Linked DNA regions of Homo sapiens: region 1 is linked to region 2. The links are contacts of gene promoters, found by promoter capture Hi-C in human tissues and cell types (Jung and others, 2019). All regions are on one chromosome and are shown on one strand. Each heading gives the region's core, a stretch centred on a gene start or on the middle of the fragment in contact. The rest is flanking DNA. Distances are from core to core; before and after follow the strand shown. Region 1 overlaps LOC105376234 (a long non-coding RNA gene). Region 2 holds the start of PAPPA (pappalysin 1).

Region 1 (3,899 bases), core at 1,288-3,787, 390 kb after region 2:
TGATTAAAATTTGAGTTTGAAATGAATAAGCATGGCATGCATTAGGGGAACATAATAATGTGTTAATGATTTTAAGACAACAATCTGGTCATGAATGTAGTTTAAAAATATAAAGTATAGTAAACTTCAAAATGAAATTACAGATTATGTTTTTTAAACTAATATTCAATTGAGTCAATATAACAAGAGTTCATATAAAGTTCTTCCAGCAGTTTCCTTAAAAGTAACATGGGTTTAAAACACACCTAGTGATCAGTAATTTGTCTATTTGACCTCTTGTATGCTACTCAAATCTAGCTCAGAAGGAGGAAGGTGAGAATTTAATTTGAAGAAAACACAAAATGGAAAATTTTGAAATGAAGAGAGTGGGTATATAAGGAAAATATCACAGTACATAAACTGAAAGATAAAAAGAATGTTGGAGTTAAGTTTTAAGTCTAAATACTGTGACCAAAGAGCTGAGTGAACTTGAGAAAGTTCTATATAGTCTGTAAGAGCTATGGTTTGAATATTTTTGTGCCTTCCAAAACTCATGTTGAAATTAATCCCCAATGAAGCAGTTTTGGGAGATGTGGCCTCATGGAAGATGTATAGGTCATAAATGCTCTTTCCTCATGTATTAGTCTATTTTCATACTGCTATGAAGGAATACCTAAGACTGTGAAATCTATTTAAAAGAAAAAAAAGAGGTTTAATGGACTCACAGTTCCACATGTCTGGGGAGGCCTCACAATCATGGTGAAAGGCCAGAGTGGAGCAAAGTCACATCTTACATGGCAGCAGGCAAGAGAGCTTGTGCGGGGAAGTGCCTTTTATAAAATCATCAAATCTCATGAGACTTATTCACTATCATGAGAACAGCATGGGAAAAACCCACCCCCATAATTCAGTTACCTCCCACCAGGTCCCTTCCATGACACATGGGATTCTGCAAGCTACAATTCAAGATGAGATTTGGGTGGGGACACAGCCAAACCATACCACCTCATGAAGGGATTAATGCCACTGTAAAAACGCTTGCAGGAATGGCTTTACTCTCTCGCTCTCTTCGGCCATGTGAAGACACAGGATTGATCTCCCTCTTCCCCTTCTGCCTTCTACCATGTGAGGACACAGCAACAAGGCCTTCATCAGATATGGATGCCTTGATCTTAGACTTGCCAGCCTCCAGAACTGTGAGAAAATACATTTCTGTTCTTCATAAATCGCCCAGTCTGCGGTATTCTGTTATTGTAGCACAAAACAAAAAGAGTCTTAGTTTTCTCATCTGATAAAATGATATTCCCAGTACCCAGCTCTCAGTGCTACTAGGAAAAGGAAGAGTAACAGGTTCTGTAAAAATCAGACTGCCCCCCTCTGATTCTCTGCTTTCACATATTTTGCCTGTGTGACCTTAGGTAAATTCCTCATATTTTTGTGCCTCAACTTTTTTATCTAGAAAATGATAATATTGGTACTTACATTATTTGAATGGGTGAGTATGAATACTTAGTACCTTATAAATATTAAGAGCTAAATAAATGATAAATACTAATGTCTATTACACAGCCCCTGAAGCATAGTAACAGCACAATAAATTGTAAATATTATTTTATTTATTCAGGAATATTTTCCTTTTATGGTCTACCATAAAATGGAAATGTTAAACCCATTTCATTGATGAAAAGGCTAAGGTTTAGCAGCTGGGATATGGTGGAATCCCACAAATACCTGGGCCCATAACTCAGGCTTTCTAAAATTCCAAAATAAGGTATCATTCCATATAAAGTATTCCAGAAGTCAAGCAGCACCTCTGGTTTCTCAGAGAACATGCTATTTCCATTAGAGCCTTCTCACCCCAAATTTCAATCTCCAAATTGAAAAAGAAAGTTACTGCTATAAACTGACAGTTTGGAATTTATTCCACTTGTCCAAGTTCTTAAATTTCATATATATGTATATGGAAGTTAAATATATTTTCTTGAATGTGATTTATGAGGACTTTCTGACAAAGTTCAAGAGGATCACTCATAATATACTCCTGGACTGCATGCTATAATCTAAACACTGGTAGAAAAGTTTGGGAAAGCAATTCCCCAAACAGTTTCATTGTCATTGAAATCACAGTATCTTGTACTTGAAGCATTGGCCCTAAAGATTCAACTTGCCTTAGAATTGAAATTGACTCAAGTTATTATAAGTTTGTGGCTTATCTGGTTTATATTAAATACCTAAAGAGAAATGAATACATCTATGGAGTCAGTGGGAGAGAGAAAAACAGTGTCAGGCTCCAAGCCCAAGGGAGGTAGTTCTTCTCAAGGAAAGACATAAGTAGAATTACTTCCTTTCCTCTTCTGGGAGACAAAGAGAGAAGTCGAATGACTAGGCATGGAATGAGAACAAAATAAGACTAATCGCAAATTAAAAGACTGGCTGACTTTCATGGACTCTGTTTTGGACTATCCTGACTTAATGGTGTTCTGCATTGTGCACTACCATAAGGATTACTTTCCAGATTATGGCACTCTGGGAGACACAAATATCAGTAGATCTCTTATTGCCAACAAAGTTTAATGTACTTTTCAAGGATTCTGTATCAAGATGCTTTGAATGGCAAGTAATAGCAAATACTAGTCAAATTGACTTAAAACATAATGGGGATTTATTGGCTCATGGAACTTAAAAGTCCAGAAATAGCAATACTCTCATGTAAGCTTTAATCCACTGGCTCAAAAGAAAATGTTGTCAGGACTCAGTTCTTCTCCTTTTTAATTTTTAGCCTTGCTTACTCAGTGCCAGATTATTTTTATTATTTACTTTTCCTCTGGTCCTAGAACTTCAGATTTCCATGTCTACATCCAGCAAGAGAAAGAGAGTAATATCCTATAGTATGCATTGAAGATAAAGAGGTTGGCTTGCTCAAAACCCATAGAAGAGTATCTTCTTTTACCCCCCACCAGCTAATATCTCTGGATTAATCCTTTTGAATATGAGAATGGGATACAAGGATAAATTCAATCTAATCAGGACCCCCTTCTATAGAACTGATAGTGGAGCTAATCCCATCAAATCTTTCAGGCTCAGAATTGTGGAGGTTGGTGGATTAGATACGGAAGAAGCAACCAACAAGTTTTTCTAACTTCTGGACTCAACCAATTTTTTTTCATCCTTACCTTCTACTTCAGATTTTACTTTCCATGCTTAGTGAACTACTTCTAGTTTGACAAGCACATACTTGATCTTCCAGCCTCTGTTCCAGTCTACTTTCCTCCTGAAATATCTTTCTTTCCATGTTGTTGAAATCATATCCATAATTTAAGGCCCAGTTCAAACAGATCCTCTTCCATAAAGCTCTTCATATTATTCTCATCTAAAGGTTCTCTCTCCATCATCTTATTTCTGATAACAATTTAAATGCCCTTTATTCCTGGGACTGACAGCTTCCAACCTTGTATTCCCAGATACTACAAGTTCTCTGAGAAAGAAGAATGCACCTCCCTTGTTATTACTTCCCCTTAGAGTGCCAAGTACCTGCCCAACATATTATAGGCAATTCAGCCAATGAGTTTTCGAGGTCATTGTCCCAGTGAAACACAGTGAGTATATTTCTATTAACATCAAAAACCCCATTTCTGCCTCTTAGAGAAGGTCTGAGGGCTAAGGGTTCTGAGAGTTTAACTCATACCTATCCAGCAGTGGGCTTATTTGGTAGCCAATTCTTCCCCTTTCCAAGTGAGTTAATGCAGTGAGCTGGTTAGCTGAGGCAGAGAAGGAAACAAATGAATAAAAAATAGGGGATTAGCAAGTATTTATGTTTTACTTTTCAAAATCAGCCTTAATACAATAGCCTTGGTCCATAAACCAATGATTCATGGATTAGAAAAAACAATACTTTGTTTTTCACTCCCTTCTTTCTTATA
Region 2 (4,053 bases), core at 1,083-3,582:
AAAAAAAAAAAAATCACCTCCAAGCAGCAGTCTCTTTGCTTTTTCACATGTTTGGAAAGAGAAGTCAACATACTACAGCTCTAAATTATCACCATCGTCATTATTATTATGGATAACGTTTCCTCTGTTCCAAATTAGACCCTCCTCTGGGCAAATAGGGCTTGCGAGTTAAAAGTGAATGAGTTCAGTCTCCTTCTTCTTCCCGGAGGAAAAAAAAAAAGGAAAAATAGCATGCGATGACGTCAGTTGTGGGTTGTTGGGGGGAATCACTGTATCGCTCTCCTTTGATAGCTGGAAAGCGGGGGCTTCGGGAGACGTATTCTTGGGATAGCAGCAGAGTGTGGGTCTCCTAAAGGGGTCTTCATGTCAACTGGATAGTCAGTGCTACATCTGTGAAAGTCCAAGCCATGGAAAGACAGGAAGAAGCAGAACTGCCCGGAGAGCTCACAGCTTTCCCTTCTAAGAAAGTGTGTGTGTGAGGGGGTGGGATCGCAAAACGCCTTCACACGTTTCCTGGCTGCAGTGAAGGGGGAACCCCTACTCTCACTTTAAGACGTCCCAGGACATGGCAAGATTGTTTGTGCAGAAAGGGAATCTCCCAGACAGAAAAGGCAAAACTTTCCTCCTCTCTTCCAGCGCCGCCCCCACCTCCGCTCCCCAGTTTTATTAAAGGCATTTCCACAGATTCATTTAGAGGGGGGAAAATGGATGCTGGAGCATTTCTAAGGTTTGCAATCCTCGCAAAGTGTCCGATTTCACTATAGGCTTTGCTGTGGAACAGCGAAGGGGAGAGAGAGGGAGGTTGAGGAGGGAGAACTCAAATTCATTACGGGCTCATAAAGTCCCATATGAGAAAAGCGCCCCGTTTCGCAGCCGCGTCTGGGGAACGCTGGCGGGGTATGCGTTAGGAAGGTCTCGTCCCAGCCCCGAGTGACAGGCAATGGGCTTTAAAAGCTAGGACATGGGATGGCGTGGAGGGGGTGAGGGTGAGTCCCAGAGGCAGGCTTCAATCAGTGAGCAACTTTGGGGCACTTCGAGGACTTCTAAGTCCTGGCCATTACAACAACCTTGCCCTTGCCGGCTTTCAGGGGAATGGGGCCTAATGAAGGGGAGTTACCTCCATTAAAACGTCAAAGAAATCAACGGTCCCCAAGTCTCCTTTCACATGCATCTCAATTGGGTCATCCTCCCTTTCATCCCAAAAGGAGAGAGTGCATCTGACCATTCGGAGCACGGGTTACGTGCCCTAGGCTCCGGGAACCAGCCCTCACTGGCCGAGGGTCCGCGGGGCCGCCAGGAGGGCTCCCCAGGTTCCTCCCAGGGATGGAGCAGCTACGCCTTCCGAGTGTGCCCATTCCACCGATGGAGCAAAGTGAGGCTCTCAGCTCGCCCGGATGTCTCTGCGCCGCTCGCGGGGCAGCTCTCGCACAGACACGCCCGCAAGCCCCCGACCCGCCCGCCACCCGCGCCCAGACACCCGCGAGCCTCTGGGGCCGCAGGGACGGTGCAGCGCCCGCCGAGGCGCCCTCACCTACCTGTGATCACTGCCGGAGACCTCTGGCCCCCCTCCGCTCGCAGCCACACTTGCAGCGTGAACGCGTCCCGGGGCAGCTCGAGGTCGGCCCGGAGGCGCAGCTGCTCGCCTCGCCCGCTGAAATAGAGCGCCCGGCTCGGCGGGCTCGGCTCCTCGGTGGCGCCCCTCGCCTCCCGCTGCTGCCGCCGCCGGGGGACGCGCACGGCTTCCCAGGCACCGCCCGGCGGCGGCGGCGGCGGCGGCGAGGCGCGGCGGCCGCGGGCCGCCCGGGTGGCGCAGGTGGCCGGGCCGGCGGCGGGGCGCGGGGGTCGGCCGGCCCGCGGGTCTCTCCGGGCCCGGCGGGGACGCTCGGCCAGCCCGCAGCCCAGCGCGGCGCTCAGCAGCCCCAGGTGCAGCACCCAACTCCAGAGCCGCATGTCCGACGGTTCCCCCCGCCCCCCCTTCGCCCCTGCACCGCCACCCGGAGCTGCCAGCTTTGGGAGCCTCGGCGCCTCGACTTTCTTCGCTTCTTCACCCTTCTTGGGCGAGCCCCCCTTTCCACTTGCTTTTTTCTTTTCTTTCTCGCTTTCCTCCTCAAGGTGTGTGCTCCACTCTCCCCACCTTTGAAAAATACAGCCCAACTCCTCCTGGTTGGCAATTAATTTCTCTCCCCGCTCCTTTATCTGCCTTATTTTTCCCCTAACAGCTGGTTGCCTTCCTCCTTGTTTTATTTCATTTTATTTTATATGATTTCTCGCTCCAAAAAAAAGCTCCTCTTAAGACTGATCCGCTGAATTCCCTCCCCCCAAAAGATGCTCTAATTTATTTATTTTTTGCGTCCTTTATAACACAAGCCACAGCCCCCTTCTCCCCCCCCAAGTCCCCCCTCCCCTCCCTCCTTCTTCTCAAAATGAAAGGAAAGAGGGGGAAAAAATCCCTCAGAAGATGAGTAAACAAGCGTATGCTAATCTGCTCCCCAGCGCTCCACCTTCCCAATTGAATGAGTCCCTGTTAAAACTGCGGGGATCATGACTAATCAATCAGTTTGGAGAGGCCGAGCTATCCAGCTTTCCTTCACTTTGCCTTTTGCCTCCTTTCCTTCGCTCCCGCTTCTCCACCACCCCCTCCTTTTCTCTCTCTCTCTCTCTCTCTTTTTTTTTTTTTTTTTTTAAGGAGACAATCTTAAAGTAACAATTTAATGAAATTCTGTACACACCCCCTTACGGTCCTCCCAGCTCTCATTCCTGCTCAAAACACACATTCCTGTTTTTGTTTTGTTTTGCTTGCTTTTTTTCCCTCCCTCACTCCCCCCACTTATTATTATTATTTCTGATGGCAGGAGAAAAATCTGTCTCTTCTCTTAGGATCCCCTTTGCACTTTGCTGGTAAACCTCATCCTTTTCTGTAGCACATAAAGAGTCTTGAAACTTGATTCTTAGATTTTTTTTTTTAATTCTCTCTCTCTGTCTCTCCCTCCCTCCCTCTCCCTCTCTTTCTCTTTTTCTCACTCTCTCCCTTACTCTTCTTCCCGCTTCCTCTCCCTTTACCTCTTTCCCTCTTCTTTTCCCTGTCCTTTTCCCTCTCAGAATTTCCTTAAAGTTGTACGATGATGAACCATTCCCCTCTTTTCTGAGCCCCCAGATAAGGCTGGCTTCAGCTAACCCAAATGTTTCCAAAGTTCTTATGGAATCATCAGAAGAAAATAGAAGAAAGGCACTGTCCAGGACATCTGCCTTTCAGAAGCTGTAGTCCTAGTACAACTGGGTCTCTGAATTTCCCCGAATACTCTTTAAAATACTCTGTTGGTCATTAGAAATTATTTTAATTTTATAAGAAGAAAATGAGAGAAAAATATTAATTTGCCTAATGTTTTCAACTTAAGCAATTCAGGTCCTCTGAAATTGTTAAAGTCACAGGTAAGGATCTGACCATTTGCTGCTTTGTAGGTCTGTTTTTGAACTGGGACATACATGTAATATATTTTTTTCTTCTTTTTTCCCCCTCTTTATAGAACTCAAAAGCTCCCCCTTATGGCAAAACAGATCTTCTTTTATTTTGTCCAAGTGTTTAATAAGTCAAAACATGTTAGCAATGGTGGATTACAAGCTATTAATTACCAATCTATTCCAATAAGGTAGTGATAAAAATATTCTGTGTGAAGTTTGCATGTGAATAGCGTGCTGAAAGTCTGCGATAAAATTAACTCCACTAAATTGTAACTTTCTTCTTCAATTGCTCTTATCTTCCGAGCTGCTCCAGATCTTTCTTGAGAGCTAGGAACATTGCTACACGCTTCAGGAAGAGAGAAAACCAAGGAAGAATGTTTGTTGGCAAAAGTATGACGATTTGTCGGATGAGCAAATGACTCAGACATCCCCTCTATGAAAGCTGGAATGCGATATATGCAAAGATTATGGAAGCTTTCTGAAAATGGGAGATCTCAGATTCATACCTTCCTAGTTTAGAAAGAAGTTGCTGAATAGTCTTAGACTAAGAACGTTTGAACTCTGTTTCTGTAGTCATAAAATGAAAATAGCACA

Evidence for each region. The method cuts DNA at HindIII sites, captures the fragments that hold promoters and counts their contacts. A contact is called where the count stands out against the background at its distance.
Region 1: a fragment that was not itself captured here is called in contact with the fragment with the promoter of PAPPA in region 2 in 3 of the 25 tissues and cell types used here (H1 embryonic stem cells, IMR-90 fibroblasts and mesenchymal stem cells).

The regions. Positions count from the first base shown.
Region 1 is chr9:115,760,089-115,763,987 of GRCh38, reverse strand. All of the region lies in intron 2 of LOC105376234 (a long non-coding RNA gene), which reads right to left. Among named protein-coding and RNA genes, the nearest start is that of LINC00474, 160 kb to the left of the region's middle. The HindIII fragment of the contact is 4,498 bases long and covers 289-3,899 here.
Region 2 is chr9:116,152,070-116,156,122 of GRCh38, reverse strand. It overlaps PAPPA (pappalysin 1), which reads right to left and starts at 2,332. Exons shown (of 22, transcript NM_002581.5): 1 at 1,536-2,332. The coding sequence starts at 1,950. RefSeq lists a silencer at 466-555. The HindIII fragment of the contact is 11,414 bases long and covers 1-4,053 here.